2 separate regions of the Homo sapiens genome follow, and region 2 is linked to region 1. The links are contacts of gene promoters, found by promoter capture Hi-C in blood cells and fetal thymus (Javierre and others, 2016). All regions are on one chromosome and are shown on one strand. The core of a region is centred on a gene start or on the middle of the fragment in contact, and the rest is flanking DNA. Distances in the headings are between cores, read along the strand shown. Region 1 holds the start of C4BPA (complement component 4 binding protein alpha). Region 2 holds the start of CR1L (complement C3b/C4b receptor 1 like).

Evidence for each region. Contacts are between HindIII fragments. The CHiCAGO score rates a contact against its expected background, and 5 or more counts as called.
Region 2: the fragment with the promoter of CR1L here is called in contact with the fragment with the promoter of C4BPA in region 1 in 16 of 17 cell types (total CD4 T cells, M2 macrophages, erythroblasts and 13 more); the score reaches 16.4 in total CD4 T cells.

What each region holds. Positions count from the first base shown.
Region 1 is chr1:207,100,702-207,105,904 of GRCh38, reverse strand. It overlaps C4BPA (complement component 4 binding protein alpha), which reads right to left and starts at 1,672. Exons shown (of 12, transcript NM_000715.4): 1 at 1,475-1,672. The HindIII fragment of the contact is 2,080 bases long and covers 1,448-3,527 here.
Region 2 is chr1:207,642,647-207,647,925 of GRCh38, reverse strand. It overlaps CR1L (complement C3b/C4b receptor 1 like), which reads right to left and starts at 2,793. Exons shown (of 12, transcript NM_175710.2): 1 at 2,596-2,793. The coding sequence starts at 2,692. It also overlaps the pseudogene CD46P1. RefSeq lists an enhancer at 2,684-2,763 and a silencer at 2,824-2,993. The HindIII fragment of the contact is 2,525 bases long and covers 2,404-4,928 here.

The DNA.
Region 1 (5,203 bases), core at 423-2,922:
ACCAACTCAAGAACTTTAGTCAGCATGGCGGGTCCCTTGTGAAAAATAATATCAGCACTTAGCAATGCAGTGCAATTTGAGAGTCACTGGAAAAATCTTTAGTCCTCAAATTTCTCCTTCCATGAGAAGTTACTTTTTAAGTTAATATTTATTTTGTCTAACTTCCCCCTTTTAAAATGCAGATACCTTGTGAAAGGATAGTATTTTTCTCCAGTCTCGGGCTGAGTGTCTTCTTCCTTATACCTGGGCTCTCAATTATATCACTTACAAACTCCAGAAAGAACTGGCTCCCACACTTTCCCCACCCTTCCTAGAATCTCTTTTTTTTTTCTTTTTTTTTTTTTTTTGAGGTGGAGTTTCACTCTTGTTGCCCAGACTAGAGTGCAATGGCACGATCTCAGCTCACCCCAACCTCTGCCTCCCTGGTTCAAATGATCCTCCTGCCTCAGCCTCCCAAGTAGCTGGGATTACAGACATGTGCCACCATGCCTGGCTAATTTTGTAATTTTAGTAGAGACAGGGGTTCTCCATGTTGGTCAGGCTGGTCTCGAACTCCCGACCTCAGGTGATCCGCCAGCCTCGGCCTCCCAAAGTGCTGGGATTACAGGAGTGAGCCACCGTACCTGGCCAAATCTCTTTATTTTTCTATCAGCCCCTTTATTCTGTGCTCATACTACATTCAAACATATCTCTAAGCTTAATGCCAACCTTCTTTGATGCTTCTGCCTCTTCTGTAGTCTACTTTTTATTCTTTTGGTGTTACCATATTTAGAGATAGAATAGGAATCAGCAAAGAGACAAGTGGTTGAAGAATTAAAATGAGGACCAGAATGGTACTGTATCCTGGCCAACCAAGGAAGAAGAGAATTTCAAGAAGGAAGGGTTATCAGCATCGTCAAATTCAGAAAGTAAAGAAGATGAGGACGACTAAGACTGCTAGCTTCAGAAACCAACTGGAGGCTGGCCAGTGTCCTCCTTATTACCAAATCTAAACATCTTTGCTGTCAGTGGTGGAGGAGATTTGGAGTGGTTAATCAAATCTCAAAATAGAAATGGCCCCAGTTTTCAGAATGTAGACTAAGAAAAGCAAGCTTCCTGTGAACCCTTTGAAAAGTCTGATTGACCCCTTGCCTCAACTCTGATGTGGGAAGGTGGTGAAAGATCAACAAACCAACACATCTGTCTTTTAGATACAGTAACAAGAGCAACACCTTACACCTCTTCTTCTTTAGCTTATTTTATTAGAATGCAATATTATTCCTCCATTTATAATTTTTAAAACTTGAGGTTCAGATAGGGTTTAAAGTACGTCTCAAGTCTTACATCCCCCTAATACAGTGCTCCTGAAAAGATTTCTGCTGAAAACACCTCCAAGCTTTTGTCTCTGTTTTATCCTTCTAATCCTGCACTCCTTAAAGGGCCAAACCACCAGCCTTTCCTCCAAGCTTCCCCAAGGGTTTAGTAGTCCACCGACCTTTGGTAGTTGAGGAAGAGCAGAAGACTCTATGATGATATCTGGGATAGTTTCTCAAAGAAGAAAACTGCCTTGATCTATGTAGTCCTGGTTCCTCCCCAGATCAGAGTTTATCATAATACCCTGAAGTTGACTGGTAATTGCTCCACCAAAGAGTCCCTGAATTTCAGCCATGTGGTTGGCTGGTCAAGGACGGTTGATGGAAATAGATGGGCAGAAACTTTTGACGGGCCCAATGAATGATTAACAGCAGAAATAAAGCAGCACTGTTTACCTAAGCTCCTTCCTCTTTGCTAGTCCTCATTCTTCGTAACATGTCGCAATCGTTTATTTTCTCCTCTGCCAACCATTTCCCCTAAGTGGAAAGGTAATTTGAATTTGAAGCCAGAATTCTTTTTTCTTTTCATAAACACATAAGGGTTATGGCAAGACACAGTCCAGCTAGCCTGGAAACCTTGGATACTGCGAGGTTCAGAGAGCCTCCGCAAAAATGATCCACTTTCCATGACACTAGGTCCAGTATGCTTTCCTGGAGTTTGAAAACTGATATTCTTGCCCAGAGCTCGTCTCTATCCCACCCCAAGGAATTACAAAAGGTGGGGAATTTATCAAACATGCATTGGGTTTCCACTATGTGCTGAGTTATCTAGAACGTATTTGGAGTTCAGCAAATGTTAACTGCTACTACATGTCAGGCACCAGAGGGCCTCCAAAAATTGATCTATCCAGTGCGCTCAGAAGAACGCAATGAAGGACCGGCCATGTTTCCTCTCGCATAGATCTAAAAAGACCACAAGCACTTACATAGTCCAATTAAGCTACTAATCCTCAAGGTTAAGATTTGTGTGCTCAGAAGATTGCTATTAAAAGGCAATTCTTTCTGAGAACTTCACTTTTTCTGTAATAAATACTGAAAGTCCCAGAAGAGTTTCAGAAAAGGAACTAAACTACAACAGGTTGAGTTAATCAAGGAAGTTTCTACAGAAGATGTGAGATTTGGATAAAAGGTAGAAATTATTAGATAAAAGTGGTAAGGATATTAGATGTAAAGAAACCATGCGCTAGGTCACCAAGGTGAGACACTGATTTGACCAGAATGAAGATAGAGGAGGATTCCAGATTGCACAGTCTTGAGACTAAATTGGAAGAAATATCACCTTTAAAGCTGCTATTTCTTTAAAGTACCGTTTTCCAATGTATTGAAGTCCTTTCGTTTACTTTCCACAGTGACTCTTGCAGATTTTTCTCTCCAGGTCACCAAATTGTCACATTCCCTCTCAGCAGATGCTCTTACCTCCTACTTTACTAAAAATCATTCTACCTTAGCTTCATCAATGTCAAATTTTCCCTCCTATTCACTCCTCATTCCGAGGAGAATTGTTTCTTCTTTTCCTGCCTCATTTTCAATGCATCTCTCATCCTGAAATGTCCCTTCAATTTTGCCAATACCTCAAATTCCACCTTTCTTCTTTAGTGTGATGCTGAACTTCTCAAAGGTGTGACTTGTTCTACCTGCCTGTTCTTTCTCATTCATCACTCCACCTGTTGCTTTCCCATCTGGCTTCTACCACTCTTCTACTGACATGTCTCTCTGAGGCACGCCCTTAGGTCCAAGTCCAAAATATCTTTAATTCATTTCTTAGGATCTGTCTGCAGCCTTTGTCACTGCTGATCATTTCCTTTCTGAAACTCTCTTCTCCTTTGGCTTCCATGACACTAAACTTACCTGATTCCCTTAACTTAACTAATTTCTCTTTCTTAGTTACTGTTACCTTCTCTTCCTCCTTCTCATTCCTAAATATAGATATATCTCAGGCTCTTCTTTTTTTAAAAAAATTATCTTCGCAATTTTAATGATCTTGCCTTCTGTCACAGCTTTAACTATTACCAGTAAGAAGACTAGCCAGCACTACATTATTATTTCTGATTACTCTCCGAAACTCAAGACTTACTTTCTTAGGTTTTGTTTTTTTTTTCCCCCCACTGGACATCTTGCAAGCACTTCACCCTCAGCACATCCAAAGAGGAATTTCTCATTTCCGGCCAACAAGCTTCACTTTCTGACCCCAGCTTTTTCTGACCTCTGGTTCTCGGGAATAAAATTTCAGATTCACTTTTGAACTCTTCCTCTCCCTCACCCTTCAATGTTTGATTAGTTGACAGGTTGTTTTGATACAAGTTTTCAATATCTCTCGTGTCTGCTGCTGCTTTTTCATTTCTGCTGCCACCAAACCAGTTCAGGTTGATAATGCCTCCCATATGGACTATTGTAGGAGTCCTTTCGTTGGTTTCTCTTAGTTCTTTTCCCTCATCAACCAATACTACAACCAACATTGTGAGAGAAATCTTTCTTTATGTTCTGTCCTTATTACTTCATTGTTTGCAAGGCTTCCATGTCTTCATGGTCTGACTGCCAAAAAACAAATGTATATTCTCTGCCTACCAAAAACAAGTGTATATTCTCTAGCACGTCATTCAAAAGCCTCCATAAACTGGCTTTGACTTATCTTTCCAGCCACCTTCTCTCTCACCAATTTCCATGCTTCATCTAGGCCAGTCCAGGCTATGTGCAAGTTCCTAAACATATCCCATTTTTTCTGCCTCTGTGCAATGCCTTCTAAAATTATTATTAGAAATTCATTTTACAACATTAAAAAGTTTTAAGAGAATAAACACTTATAATTTCATATTCTAAGACAAATGTTTTTATCTGTGCCTATTATTGTCTAATCCTTTCCCACAAGAATAAAGGTTTTACATAAATGCAATCATAAGCCCTTGTTATTAAATATTCTATTTTTACTTAAGATTGTATTTTTAAGATTTTCTACTTCCTCATATTTATCACCATATAGGTCTGCATTACATTTAAAGTACCATAATTTATTCAAAATTTTCCTAAGAGTAGACATTTCAAATGCTCATAAGATCCTCCTAGATAGATAATATGTACAAATAAGAAGTAGCTTCAATTTCAAATCATTTTCCTCCAGTTAGATTAATCCTAGGAATGAATTTACTTGGTTAAAAATCTTATTATTGGCCAGGCGTGGTAGCTCATGCTTGTAATCCCAGCACTTTGGGAGGCCGAGGCGGGCAGATCACCTGAGGTCAGGAGTTCGAGACAGCCTGACCAACATAGGGAAACCCCGTCTCTACTAAAAATACAAAATTAGCCGGGCATGGTGGCGCATGCCTGTAATCCCAGCTACTCAGGAGGCAGAGGCAGGAGAATCGCTTGAACCCAGGAGGCAGAGGTTGTGGTGAGCTGAGATCACGCCATTGCACTCTAGCCTGGGCAACAAGAGCGAAACTCCATCTCAAAAAAAAAAATTGGTTTTAAATCTTATTATTGTCTTACTCCATTTCTCAAATATTCTTTCCAACTGGAATGAGCTCTTTAATCTTTGTCTCTAATTCTCACTTACTTTTGAAGGCCCAAATAACTGTGACTTCTTCCTTGACAATATTCCTGCCTCCTCCTCCCAGACAGAAGTGAACCTCCTCTCATCTGAGCTCTCATAGCCCACTGTTGTCTGAAAATGTTTAGTTCATTCTAACCACTCTAAAATAATGCTACGTGTGTACATGTCTTGTGCCTATTAGTAGACTCTGGGGTACTCAAGAGTCCATCTCTTATTCCCCTTCATAACTTTACCTAGCGATTTTCCATTATTTCAAGCTGGCTTATATATTTTGGTTGCACTTTATCTAGATATCCTACGTGTT
Region 2 (5,279 bases), core at 1,544-4,043, 540 kb before region 1:
AATCTTTAAAAAGAAAAAAAAGTCCTTTCGTTTTCTTCTTAACACCACTGCTCCCTAATCCCATCACCCTCCTTCAAAATGAACGTTTTAATGATCAGTGAGATGCAAGACTGAAGTACTGGAAGCCCTGCAGAGTCAACATAAACAGGGGAGACAGATCCTTTCTGGCCCTCAGCTGCTGCTGCCCTAGCTTTTTAGGTACAACAGAAAGACCATCCTGAGCATAGCTCTTTAAAGAACCTTCCTCTTGGAGGCAGGAGGGACTTTTTCCTAGGCTCTAAGCCCCAGCCAAATAGTATATTTAATTTTCTGATATTTAACAGATGTCTATATGGATACTGAGTTAGGGTTCATACAGAAGCAAACAAATGGGGCTTTTGGAACCACAAATGGGGGAAGACAGAAGATTCCTGCATTCTGATGGGGAGAGACAGAGAACAGAAAAGATCACTTTAAAAGGGTGATTACAAGAGGTACTTGAACTGGGTTGTATGTGTTCAACCTGAGTTGGGGGGTTCCAAGAAGGTCTCTGAAGCGGTAACATTCCAGCTGAGCTTGCAGAAGAAACAGCCCATTTATGCAGCAGGTCATGGGGAGAACGTTCCAGGACTGAGGGAACAGAAAGCACAGATGCCCCAAAGTGGCAGAGTTTTGTCTGTTTGATGAGAAGCAAAGCCTTCCCTCCCCCCAGTCATTTGTTAAATGCTGTCAGAAAATTATACTCCTTTCCTCCAGAACACTTCCCTGGTTAATATATTTGTTACTATTATGTTTTGGTTAATGTCTGCCACTCCCAATACATTTTAGCAAACATCTGTTGATTGCCTACTGTGTTCCCGGCATTAAGCACTTAACAATGAGCAAAAAAAGTCCCTGCTTATCTTCCTGCATGTACGTGTGTGTAAACAAATAGTAAAAAAAGGATAAAGAAAATAGGAATTGTCTGTTATTACCTACTAGTGTAACAGCACCAGACATACAAGACCCATATTTGTTGAATGAATGTTCCTAAGAGAAGAAATGCAACGTACAATCTGTACATGGAATAAGATCCTAAATATAATTTGGACATAGATACACATGAAACACAATAAAGTCAGAAGGAAATATAACAAAATATTAAAAACAGTTGTCCTTTTATTTTGTTCATTTTGCACAATAAGCCTGTATTTAAGCATGTATTTTTTGGCTTTTTTTTTTTTTTTTTTTTTTTTTGAGACAGGGTCTCACACTGTCATCCAGGCTGGAGTGCAGTGGCATGATCACAGCTCACTGCAGTCTTCTCCTCCTGGGCTCAAGCGATCCTCCCACCTCAGCCTCTGGAGTAGTTGGGACCACGGGCATACACCACCATGCCCATCTAATTTTTTTATTTTTTGTAGACATGGGGTTTTGACATGTTGTCCAGGCTGATCTTGAACTCCTGGGCTTAAGCAATCACCCAACTTGGGCCTCCCAAAGTGCTGGGATCACAGGTGTGAGCAACTGGGCCTGGCCTAGCATGCATTTTTAAAAATATTGATTCCATTCAATGAAATACAAAACAGTGGGATAGGCCTTAAGCTTCAGTTTATGAGCTGTAGGGGAAAACAAGATTAACATTATCTGCCTTCCTTTGTTAGGATACTAATTTCTCACTAGGTTTGGCTACCAGTGTTTTTTAGGTTGCTTCACATCTCTCAAATATGACTCAAACTAATGAAAAGAAGGAAAACAATGTCAAAAAGCCACTAGGCAATGGAATCAGATACTGTCTATATTGGTTGGGAACAGGAAGATGACTCGATGGCCCACCCACCCCCCAAAAAAGCAGCCACTTAAAATTCAAGACCAATACGATCTCAGGCAACACGGACACTGTTCACAGAAGGCACTAAAAGCATGGTGCGCCCTTACCACCTCTCTAACCCCAGGCACTGAGAGCCTGCTCTCACTCAACATGCCCTCCCTAGCCGCAGAGTCCGCGCTCGCTCCACTCAAAGCAAACAGTGAGCTGTCTTGCCCACAGTGAACTCCGCACACAGGCCACTTGCGCACAGCACGCTCCCAGCAACACCTGGCCAGGCCCCTGCTCGCCCAGCCCAGCCCAGGCCAGCCCAGCCCATGGGGCACAGCAGACGCACTGCAACCCTTACCGCGGGTACTGTCCAAGCCCTAATGAACACCCTACTCACCAAGGCACCAAGGGAACACAGGGCAAACTCTCACCACGGGCACAGCACGGGCTCTAGCAACAATCCCACGCACCTGTGCACTCCAGAGCAAGCCCTCACCTGGGGCGCCCAGTAAGCCCTCCCCTTGCTGACTGGGCTCAATCCCGAAAACACGATTCACGCTTCTTTTGGGAACGCAGCCAGATCCTGCGTAAATGTCGGCCGCGCACACGATGCCACCAAACAAGCTTCTGCGTGGTTCCCGCATCCCCCGCCACATACCCCCGGGATCTGAGCACGGCACCCCTCGGAGAACCCTGGCCTCGCTCTCTATCCCAAGCAGGCACGACGTGCAGTGAGCTTCGCCCCGCGCCTCCTGCCCGACTGACTGAGCAGAGCTCTAGCCTCGCCGCGGACGCGCGAATCCACCCCGGGGTCCTACCGGAGAAGGAGGACAGCAGCAACACCAGGGCCGCCAGAAGCAACCCAGGAAAGCGCCGGGAAGGAAAGGGACGCTCGAGACGGACGGGAGGCGCCATGAGCGGCGCGGGAGACCCCGTGATTTATCCGGAGGTGAGCAGAGAAACCGAAAGCCAGCCGAGCAGGGAAGTCCCTTCTGAGTCCGGTTAGTGGACACAACAATCCCCAAACTCACAGTTTCCAGGGCCGCATGACAGGTGGGCGTGGCCTGGGCGCGTAGTGTGAAATTGAGTCTTAGCGCCGGGGCGGCTGGGGCCAATCGGCGGGCCGCGGGGCGGGGCCTCGGCGCGCAGGGGCAGCCCGTTGGCCTTCGAGGAGACAGGGCGTGTCCAGAGCCCTGGCAGGGGGTTATCGTGGGCTAGCACCCCTCAGGGTTAGTTTTATCCTGGGGCACTGCAGGCTGTCAGGACTGCCTGGGCCCTTACTTGGTATTTGGCATTAGTCAGGCATTATTGGGAACAATATTTGAGTTTTTCTTGCTTGAATGCCTGCTACTGAATCGTCTCGGCGCCGTCTTCTTTTCACAGTCTCAAAGGTTTGGCTTCTGCACTCCCAGCCCCTAAGATAATTTGCCCTTTGCTCCCCTCCCTGGAGAGGACCCGTCAGAATCTAAATTATTAAGCAACACCAGGCCGTTAGCATATTGAGACTCTATGGGACCCTTGCCCTTGAGCAACTAAATGTTTTATTGAAGACGAAATATACATGCATGAACAATGTAAGGACAAGGGTGTCCTAAGTGCCAAATTCCTGGAAGCAATAAATGCAGGAGGATTGGGATGGGTAGAAATTGTTAGGCGAAGTGGATAAGGGGGAGAACTTTTCTGGTGAAACAATCTCAGGAACAATGTTGGAAAATTAAGAATGAGCAGGATTGATTTGTAGGGTTCTGAGTAAGCCAGTATGACTGGTAAAAGGGGGAAAAAAAAAGGGAACATGACTGGCATTAAAAGAGCAAACAAAAAAAGTTGACATCTCTTCCCCTCAGATTGGCAAAGAATTAAAACGTCAGCCAATGTGAGTGAACATGTTGCAGGGGGACCAGCACTCTGTTTGTAACATAACTTTTCAGAATGTTAAAAGTCTTAAAGTGGAAATGACTTGTGTTAGGCTCTCAGTTCCCAGAGAAATCATCAGAGCTGTGATCAAAGATTTATAATTTTTGTAAAAAATGTAAACCCTAAGTGTCTAGCAAAAGTAATAAGGAGGCAGTTACCTTTGTGTGATGGAATTCTATGCAGCAAGTATTGCAAAAGAATACCAAATGTGAGAAACTATGATATCATTGTAAGTGGAAAAAGCAGAGTCCAAATTGGCATGTGCATTTTGGCAGTCCTTTTATTAAAACAAAAATGCTATATATATATATATATATATACATACACTAATTTGGAACACAACAAAATTAACAATGGTTAAGATTATAGATATTTCACTTTCCTTGTGCTTTTCAGTTTTCTTTTTCTATGTTGACCCTATGTTACATTTAGAATAAGGTAAAGAAAATGTATTTTAAAAATCAAATCTATGTATCAATTGTTGTTTTGTTCATAGAATTATGGGAGTAGAACTTGTATTACACAGGGTTTGTATGAGAGGATAGTGAGGAATTAGATGCTTAGTGTATAAACCTAAAATGGGTCTTATGGAATTATAGAGTTTAAATGTATTTAATACAGTTCTATAACTGAGATGTACTGAAGACTTTCTGGGTTCACCAAACCACGGAATTTCCTCTTCCCAAACATTTTCAAATTTTTGGCATAGAATACAAGACATTGAGTCTGGTGGTATATCAAATAAACATCTTAGTATCTTGGATTATAAAATTCAGACACTCTATGACAGTAATTAAAGGAGGTATAATTAAGGGGATAGTAAATAGGAAACTCAATGAGGAGAAATTATTATTCCTGTTAATGTATGGTGTGAAAGAGCAATATGACAGACATGTTCTGTGGCTCAATGCCAGCACTTATTTGTGAAAGCAGATAGTCTATTTATTTTTCTCCACATCAATAGATATTAAAAATTCTCCATTTATTTTCAGGCTTGGAAGAAAGATACCTTTTTCTCATGAGAAAAATTATTATAAAGAATAGAAGAAAAAATATGGCTAGTGTTTGATTTCCTAGTTTCAGGTGTCAGATTAGATTCAAAGATCGGTATTTTATTGAAACTTTCTTTCAATCAGTAAAATTTCCATCCCTGGGGTTAATCAAGCCATTCTTAATATACTCGAAGACTTTCACATTAAATTTATAAAACTAATTTTTATTTGAGTTAACTGAAGCTTCATTTGAATGGTTCTGAGCCTTGTTTCCTATTTTTTGGGATAAGTTCCATAAGTCAGGGTTAGAGCTTTCTTATAATATCTCCAGTGCCAAAATCTGTAGTAAGTGTACAATGAATAGCTGGTAAATATTGGATGAAATAAATGGTTCTTGTGGTCAAGTGCATTTAACATATCTCTGCCAGTTCTCCTCCAGCATGAATTTATTAAATGTCCAGAAATTTCTGAGAGATTTTGATTTAAATAATTTTAGACCCTAGGAAACAAATCGAGATCGGTCTGTAAAATGGATGAGCTACAACTGTCTGCACAGCAAACTTTCCTAAATCAGGTGTTGCAAGCTTACTTGTGAA